Regions from separate parts of the Homo sapiens genome. Here region 2 is linked to region 1. The links are contacts of gene promoters, found by promoter capture Hi-C in human tissues and cell types (Jung and others, 2019). All regions are on one chromosome and are shown on one strand. The core of a region is centred on a gene start or on the middle of the fragment in contact, and the rest is flanking DNA. Distances in the headings are between cores, read along the strand shown. Region 1 holds the start of SETD1B (SET domain containing 1B, histone lysine methyltransferase). Region 2 overlaps P2RX4 (purinergic receptor P2X 4).

Evidence for each region. Contacts are between HindIII fragments. The study calls those that stand out against the background at their distance.
Region 2: a fragment that was not itself captured here is called in contact with the fragment with the promoter of SETD1B in region 1 in 1 of the 25 tissues and cell types used here (dorsolateral prefrontal cortex).

What each region holds. Positions count from the first base shown.
Region 1 is chr12:121,802,266-121,805,258 of GRCh38, forward strand. SETD1B (SET domain containing 1B, histone lysine methyltransferase) reads left to right here and starts at 1,744. Exons shown (of 17, transcript NM_001353345.2): 1 at 1,744-1,968; 2 at 2,459-2,646; 3 at 2,853-2,951. The coding sequence starts at 2,473. It overlaps LINC01089 (long intergenic non-protein coding RNA 1089), which reads right to left and starts at 681. Exons shown (of 4, transcript NR_152740.1): 1 at 366-681. RefSeq lists silencers at 1,289-1,538, 1,809-1,938, 1,979-2,038. The HindIII fragment of the contact is 28,947 bases long and covers 1-2,993 here.
Region 2 is chr12:121,212,543-121,217,628 of GRCh38, forward strand. It overlaps P2RX4 (purinergic receptor P2X 4), which reads left to right. Exons shown (of 12, transcript NM_002560.3): 2 at 4,592-4,739. Among named protein-coding and RNA genes, the nearest start is that of P2RX4, 5.0 kb to the left of the region's middle. The HindIII fragment of the contact is 3,874 bases long and covers 229-4,102 here.

The sequences.
Region 1 (2,993 bases), core at 494-2,993:
TGCAGATGAAGGTTCGGAAAATTAAGGACATCTCAGCAACATTAACATCAAAACTGTACTGCGTCAGGACAGAATGGATTGGGTACTTACAATGTAAAAGGTTTTTTAAAAACTAAAAGAGTAACAACTGCTCACAATTTTTTGTTGCTGCCATTTCGCTAGTCCTAAAGCTATATACATTTAAAACATTACCTTGTTAAAAAGAGAGAAGGAGTTAATAAGATGGCCAGGTTTAAGTGTTTAATAGAGGAAACTAGATATATTTAAAAATTTATTGTTCAGTCAAGAGAATACAGATTAAGACAGCTCCAAGCTCCCCCCACCCACCCATAGAACAAAAAGAGGAAAAAAAATATGTCATTTACTTAGGTTTTTTTGGAATTCAAAACTGTTAACTGCTGACATGAATGGTGTGCTATGACCTAGTTATACAAGACAAAGATGGATTCCAAGTCATAAGGAAAAATCCAGATCTTTTTAAAAAGTCTTCTCCAGTCTTCCAACTGTGAGTCCTTGGGCCTGTTGACAAATGTTAAACACACTGAGACGTCCTGAACTGGATGGTAGAGTCAAAGGAAAAACATTCCCCATTTGCAACAAAGGAAAAACCCACTTGGCCATTTAATTCCATTGCAGAAAAATGGCTTCCCTCATCTGTTGGCCTCTCCTTCGTGTCTGATGAAGGATGTTTTGAGATCAGCGTCTAATAACTCAAGCCCTATAGAAGCCGCGCGCTGATTGGCTGCCGCGCCCTGCCGCCCTGCTCCAGCCAATTACCTACCCACGGCCAAATTACAAACCCCGAAAAGAGCCCCAATATGAGCTACACCAGCTCCGAGCCCCGGCGAGGCGGCTCCTGCGCCTCGGCCGCCAGAGAGGAGCGGCAGAGGGGGCTGCAAACGCGTCCTCGCGAAGCCCGGGAGCCTCGGAGTTGAACTCACAAAATGGAAGCCGCGCGCTGATTGGCCGCCGCCACTCCCGGACCTTTAATAAAGAAAGGGGAAGGAAAAGATAAATGCAAAAAAGGGGGACTCTCTCCTCCGCGGGTGGCTGGAGGAAGGGGGGGAAGCATGTGTTCAGGACAATTACAGGGCGCTCCCCTCCAAAAATAAAAACAGAAGAAGGCGTCTATCGCCCAGGTCCAGGCGAGGGCTGCATCCTCCCAGGAATGCGAATGCTAACGTGGTGAACCCTGGTCTCCCTTCCCCAGCTCAGCTCCGGGGAGGGGGTCGCGGGCCGCAGGAGGAAGCCGGAGCGCAGATACCTCGATTGCAACTCCTCTGAGTCGACGCCGGCCTCCCCCCGCGGCTCCCAGCGTCCACACACACCCTCGGCCCCCCAGACCCCAGCCATCTCCCCGGGCCCCGCGCGCCCGCCTCCGGCCCGGGCAGTTTGGAAACAGTTTTGCAGGCCCGGGACGCACGCCGCGGCGGTCGCGGCTCTGAGGGTAGTCCCGGCCGCGGGAGGTAGAGCCCGGGGAGACCCCCTCCCCCGCCAGCCAAGACCCCCACCCCAGTCCCAGAAAAATAAATAAATTAAAAGGCCTTCCCCCGGGGAGGGGGAGGCAGTGTGGGAGCGCGCGAGTGAGGGGTGGGGGGCCGCTGGGGCCCGGGGCTTTGGCGGCGCAGCTGCCGCCGCCGGGAGAGTGCCTGGGGAAGCGGCGAGGAAGGAGAGGGGAGGAGGAAGAGGAGGAGGAGGAGGAAGAGGAGGAGGGTGAGCGCTCGGGTCGGGCTCCTTAGCGGTGTATTGTGGGATGTGCGGCTACTGGGAGCCGAGCCTCCGCCGCCAGCCGCCTCCCGGGCAGCAGCAGCAGCAGCGGCGGCGGCAGCGGCAGCAGCTCCGGGCCCGGCAGCCGCGGCGGCGGCGCCCCCCCTTCCTGGCCCCCGGTCCGGCCGCCCCGGCCTCGGCTCCCTCGGGGGACACCATGTACTGGCTGGCGGCGCAGGGAGGCCGGCGCCCGGCGGGGATGTAAGCGCGGCTCGGGGAGGGAGAGGCCGCGGCCGGCAGCCGGGCGGCCCAAGCCCCCGGCCCCGGCCCTGGCCCGAGCGGGCGAGCGGGCGGGCGGGCGGCGGCGCCGCCAGGCCCTGCCGCCAGCCTCGCGCCAGAGCCGGGCCGAGCTAGCGGGTGAGCGCCACGCCGGGCGGCCGGGCGGGCACCATGGGCCGGAGTCCGCGTCCTCCGGGCGCCCCGGGCCCCGCCAGCCCGCCCAGGGGACCCCCGGGAGCCCCTCGCTGCCGCCCCGAGACGGTGGCCGAGCGGGCGGGCGCGTAATTCTCCCGGAAGGGTTATTCTCTCGCTCCATTCTTGTTTTGGGGGGAGCCAGCGAGACAGCTCCTTTCGGGGCGCGCTGGCAAGGTGGGAGGGGGTGGGGGCCTGCCGATTGGATTCTTTCGCGTGTGTGTAGAAGCGGCCGCCGCCGCCGCCGCGGCGGAGACGACAACAACTTGCTGGTTTTCAGGTTGGGTTAACGGCATGGAGAACAGTCACCCCCCCCACCACCACCACCAGCAGCCCCCGCCGCAGCCCGGCCCTTCGGGCGAGAGGAGGAACCACCATTGGAGAAGTTACAAGTTGATGATTGACCCGGCTCTGAAAAAGGGGCATCATAAACTGTACCGCTACGATGGGCAGCATTTCAGCCTGGCGGTGAGTAGCCGGCGCGCCCCCCCAGCCGTGCCCCGCGTCGTGTCCGGGGAGACGCGCCTAGCGGCCAGGGACCCCCCGCCCGATCCCCCGGCCAACTGTCAGACGGGGCCCCAGCCCTGGAGTTTGACAAGTGCCTCGAGAAAGGGGTCTGCCCATGGGGAGGGGGACCAGTTCTCTCATCCCGGCCCCCCAATTTCTCCCCACAGATGTCCAGCAACCGCCCGGTGGAAATTGTCGAAGATCCCCGGGTCGTCGGGATCTGGACCAAAAACAAGGAGCTGGAGCTGTCGGTGCCCAAATTCAAGGTAGGACCCCTCCCCACTGCCCCGCCGTCCCTCCCCCACCTC
Region 2 (5,086 bases), core at 916-3,415, 590 kb before region 1:
TTTGGGAGGCCGAGGCGGGTGGATCACCTGAGGTCAGGAGTTCGAGACCAGCCTGGCCAACATGGTAAAACCCCGTCTCTACTAAAAGTACAAAAAATTAGCCAGGCCTAGTGGCTAATGCCTGTAATCCCGGCTACATGGGAGGCTGAGGCAGGAGAATCGTTTGAATCCAGGAGGCGGAGGTTGCAGTGAGCCCAGATTGCGCCACTGCACTCCAGCCTGGGCAACAAGAGCAAAACTCCATCTCAAATATATATATATATATATATATATATATATATATTTTTTTTTTTTTTTTGGAGACTCACTGCTAGCCAGTTAACTGAACTCACATCCCTGGTTGGACCTGAAGCATTTGGGGGCAGGAGCTCCCCTGCAGCTTTTTGCTTTTGGCGTTTGCTGCTAGTGGGAGGATCAGTGCACATCTACCTTAGGGTACCTGTAAAATTACAACTGCGGAAAATATCCATAGTGGTGTTGCACTGTATGGTAGCCACTAGTAACTTGCACCTGTTGAACACTTAACCGTTCCTACTCTACACTGAGATGTGCTATAACCTTAAAATACACACTGGATTTCAAAGACATAGTACAGAAAAAGAGGCTGGGCACAGTGGCTCATGCCTGAAATCACAGTACTTTGGGAGGCTGAGGTGGGAAGATCGCTTGAGCTCAAGAGTTTGAGACAAACCTGGGCAACATAGCGAGACCTTGCCTCTACAAAAAAATACAAAAATTAGCCTGGCATGGTGGCACACGCCTATAGGCCTACCTATTTGGGAGGTTGAGGCAGAAGGACTGCTTGAACCTGGGAGGTTGAGGCCACAGAGAGCTGTGATCACACCACCCTCCAGCCTGGGCAACAGAGCAAGACACTGTCTCAAAAAAACAAAGAGTACCACTATCACATGAAAACATTTTTTATTGATGACATGTTAAAATATTTTGGATATATTGGGTTACACAGAATATATCATTACAATTAATTTTTCCTGTCTCTTTTTTCTTTTTTTCTTTTTAAACGGCGCCTTGCTTTGTCACCCAGACTGGAGTGCAATGCACTGCAACCTCTGCCTCCCAGGCTCAAGTGATTCTACCATCTCAGCCTCTGGAATTATGGGACTACAGGTGCACACCACCATGACTGGCTAATTATTGTGTTTTTGTTTGTTTGTTTGTACAGATGAGAAATCTCATCTCTACAATCATGAGGTTTCCATGTTGCCCAGGCTGGTCTCGAACTCCTGAGCTCTAGCAATCTGTCTGCCTCGGCCTCCCAAAGTGCTGGGATTACAGGCATGAGCCACCGTGCCCAGCCCTTTCTATTTCTTTTTACTTTTTGACATGGCTACTAGAAACTTTTAAATTACAGGGTCTTGCCCTGTGGTAGCTCACGCCTGTAATCCCAATACTTTGGGAGGCTGAGGCAAGTGGATCCCTTGAGCTTAGGAATTTTGAGACCAGCCTGGGCAACGTAGTGAAACCCCATCTCTACCAAAAATACGAAAAATTAGCTTGGCATAGTGGCGCACACCTGTGGACCCAGCTACTTGGGAGGCTGAGGTGGGAGGATTGCTGTAGCCTGGGAGGCGGAGGTTGCAGTGAGCCAAGATTGTGCCACTGCACTTCAGCCTGGGCGACAGAGCGAGAGCCTGTCTCAAAAAAAAAAATATGTGGCTCGCGTTATGTTTTTATGGGACAGCGCAGCTCTGTAGGATTCCTTATGACGCATTCACTATCTCGGTCATGAGAATCTTTAAAGCAGTAAATGCTTTGCTTTTGTCCGTCTTGCTATAATCAAAACTGACTCAGGACCTGCATTAAGGCTCTTTTTTTTTTTAACCTCATCTCTTAACTTTTTGATGCAACTCATCTTAGTGAAATTGTGGTCTCCTCCTACAGCAACCCTCCCTCAAAAAAAGACCGAACACGCAATTCTCATCTATCTAACTCTGTTAACAATCATATGAGGAGGAAATAATCACATGATAATGAGTGGCATGAAACCCTGTGTCTCTAAATTAAGCAACTCACTGTACTTGATGAGTACATCAGTCTTCCTGCCCCAAGCTTTTGTGTGTCAGACTGGAATTAAATGGAAGCTTACACTGCAGCTGAATTCCTAGAAGCCCTGGACTTGTCAGGGGAAAAGCCCATGGGGGGAAAGCCCATCTCTAGGCTGGGCAATGAACTTGGAGACTGCTCGATCACACACACTCATAAGTAACAAAACCATTAATTTCTTTTCTTTTTTTTGGTGGAGGGACAGAGTCTCACTCTTGCCCAGGCTGGAGTGCAGTGGCATGATCTCAGCCCACTGCAATCTCCACCTCCCGGGTTCAAGTGATTCTCCTGCCTCAGCCTCCCGAGTATGTGGGACTACAGGCACCCACCACCACACCCAGCTAATTTTGTGTATTTTTAGTAGAGTCGGGGTTTCACAATGTTGGCCAGGCTGGTCTTGGACTCCTGACCTCAACAAAACCAGTGAATTTCTGAAGTCTCAGCATCTAGGACTTAGAAGAAGGAGAAGCCTAGCATTTCCTGATTCTATAAATAACAACACTGATAGTCTCTAGTAGATGTTTAACAGCAGTTCGAAGGGGAGGGGTTCTGATTTGTAGTACTGGCCAATTTCCACGGTGTCAGTACTTGCTCTGTGACCAACGATGACTCACAAACATTGTTGTAAACATTTGACCTACATTAATTCTTTTACCCTCACAAGAATCCTGTGAAGATCTACTATCATTCCCAGATTATAGATGGGAAAAACTGAGGCACAATGAGGTTAAGCACCTTGGCCAAAGTTATGCCTCGTGAATGGTGGAGCTGAGCCATGAACCAAGACCTCTGCCTCCAGTCTGTCCTAACCCCTATAAGCTAATGCCTGTAGATGGTTTTTTTTTTTTTTTTTTTTTTGAGACAGAGCCTTGCCCTGTCGCCCAGGCTGGAGTGCGGTGGCATCACAGCTCACTGCAGCCTCCGTCTCCCAGGCTCAAGTGATCCTCCCACCTCAGCCTCCCAAATAGCCGGGATTTTTATTGGACAGCACAGCTCTGTAGGATTCCTTATGACGTATTCACTGTCTCAGTCACGAGAATCTTTAAAGCAGTAAATGCTTTGCTTTTGTCCATCTTGCTATAATCAAAACTGACCATGCCCGGCTAATTTTTTATTTTTTGTAGAGATCCCTATGTTGCCCAGGCTTGTCTCGAGCTCTTGGGCACAAATGATCTTCCCCCCTTGACCTCCCAAAGTTCTGGGATTACAGGCGTGAGCCACTGTACCCAGCCCCTTTGGATTTTTAATTGTTCAAACTGGTAGTCATAGTCCCACTTCAGAGGAGAGAACCATATATGTGACCAGAATTCTTGGGGGAAAAGTAAGAAACTACTCTTAAAAGTTCCTTAAAGGGTAGAATTCTCTTTTCTAGAAAGAGTAGCCTAGGGTTGTCCAATCTTTTGGCTTTCGTGGGCCACACTGGAAGGAGAAATTATCTTGGGCCACACATTAAATATGCTAACACTAACAATAGCTGATGAGCTAAAAAACAAACTTTTTTTGATCACACAAAAAAAAATCTCATAACGTTTTAAGAAAGTTTACGAATTTGTGTTGGGCCTCATTCAAAGCCATCCTGGGCCGCATGCGGCCTGTGTGCTATGGGTTAGACAAGCTTAGAGTAGAGCATAGTGGGTGAGAGAAGAGGCTTCAGATGCTTCTGGCTTGAGTTCAAATCCTGACTCTGCCACTCACTAGCTGTGTGACCTTTGGCAAGTGACTTAACCTCTCTGTGTTTCCATTTCCTCCTCTGTAAAATGGAAATAATAATAATGATACCTGTCTCATAAAGTGGTCAGGATTAAATGAGTTAATACATATAAAGAGCTTAGATCAGTGCCTGGTGCCTATAAACACTCCAGTGGTAACTGTTATAATTTGTATTATCTCTTGGTGATTCCCATAGGTCACAGGCATTGAAAGTGCTCAAAGGGCCAGGTGCAGTGGCTCACGCCTGTAATCCCAGCACTTTGGGAGGTCGAGGTGGGTGGATCACCTGAGGTCAGGAGTTCGAGACCAGCCTGGCCAACATGGTGAAACCCCGTCTCTACTAAAAATACAAAATTAGCCAGGCGTGTTGGCGCATGCCTGTAATCCCAGCTACTTGGGAAGCTGAGGCAGGAGAATTGCCTGAACCCGGGAGGCGGAGGTTGCAGTGAGCCAAGATCACACCATTGCACTCCAGCTTAGGCAACAAGAGCGAAACATCGTCTCAAAAAAAAAAAAAGAGAAAATGCTCAAATGTAATAAAGACAGTATTCATCGAGCGTTTTCTCTGTGCCATCAGTGTGCTGAGTGCTTTACCTGCACCATCTCATTTATTTCCCGCAAACCCTCCTGTGGTTTAGGTGCTACCATCCCCATTTGGCAGAAGTGGAAATGGAGTCCCCTAGAAGGTACGTAGCTTGTAGAAAGTCATGTAATTAGTCAACATCGTACTTCCAGCCACTGGCCAGCAGAAGCTTCCCCATCAATTCAAATCCATTGAATCCTAATGGCAATTTAAGAGGCCTGTTTTATTTTATAGGTGGGTGTTTGTGTGGGAAAAGGGCTACCAGGAAACTGACTCCGTGGTCAGCTCCGTTACGACCAAGGTCAAGGGCGTGGCTGTGACCAACACTTCTAAACTTGGATTCCGGATCTGGGATGTGGCGGATTATGTGATACCAGCTCAGGTGTGTCTCCCACTGTGTCTTCTGTCTAACACTGACACCTTGCTCTTTACTGACTTTGCACACTTGATTAATGATTGACGTGGCCTGAGTCCTGACATCACCAATGCCCAGAATGATTGTTTTAGTCCAAGAAAACGGTGCAGCCAGATCTCTTTTCAGCTTAGGATCTAACAGAGTGTATCCAGGCAGCTGTGGTTCCTCAGCTTGAAAGCATGGCAGGCTGAAAGCCCTGAAAGATGAGAAAACAAATGTCTTAAATCCTGATAGAAATTCAAGTGGAAATATCACCTTTCCACATTTTGGGTTTGCATTATTGTCCCAAATACACGAGGTAAATCTTTTCAGAC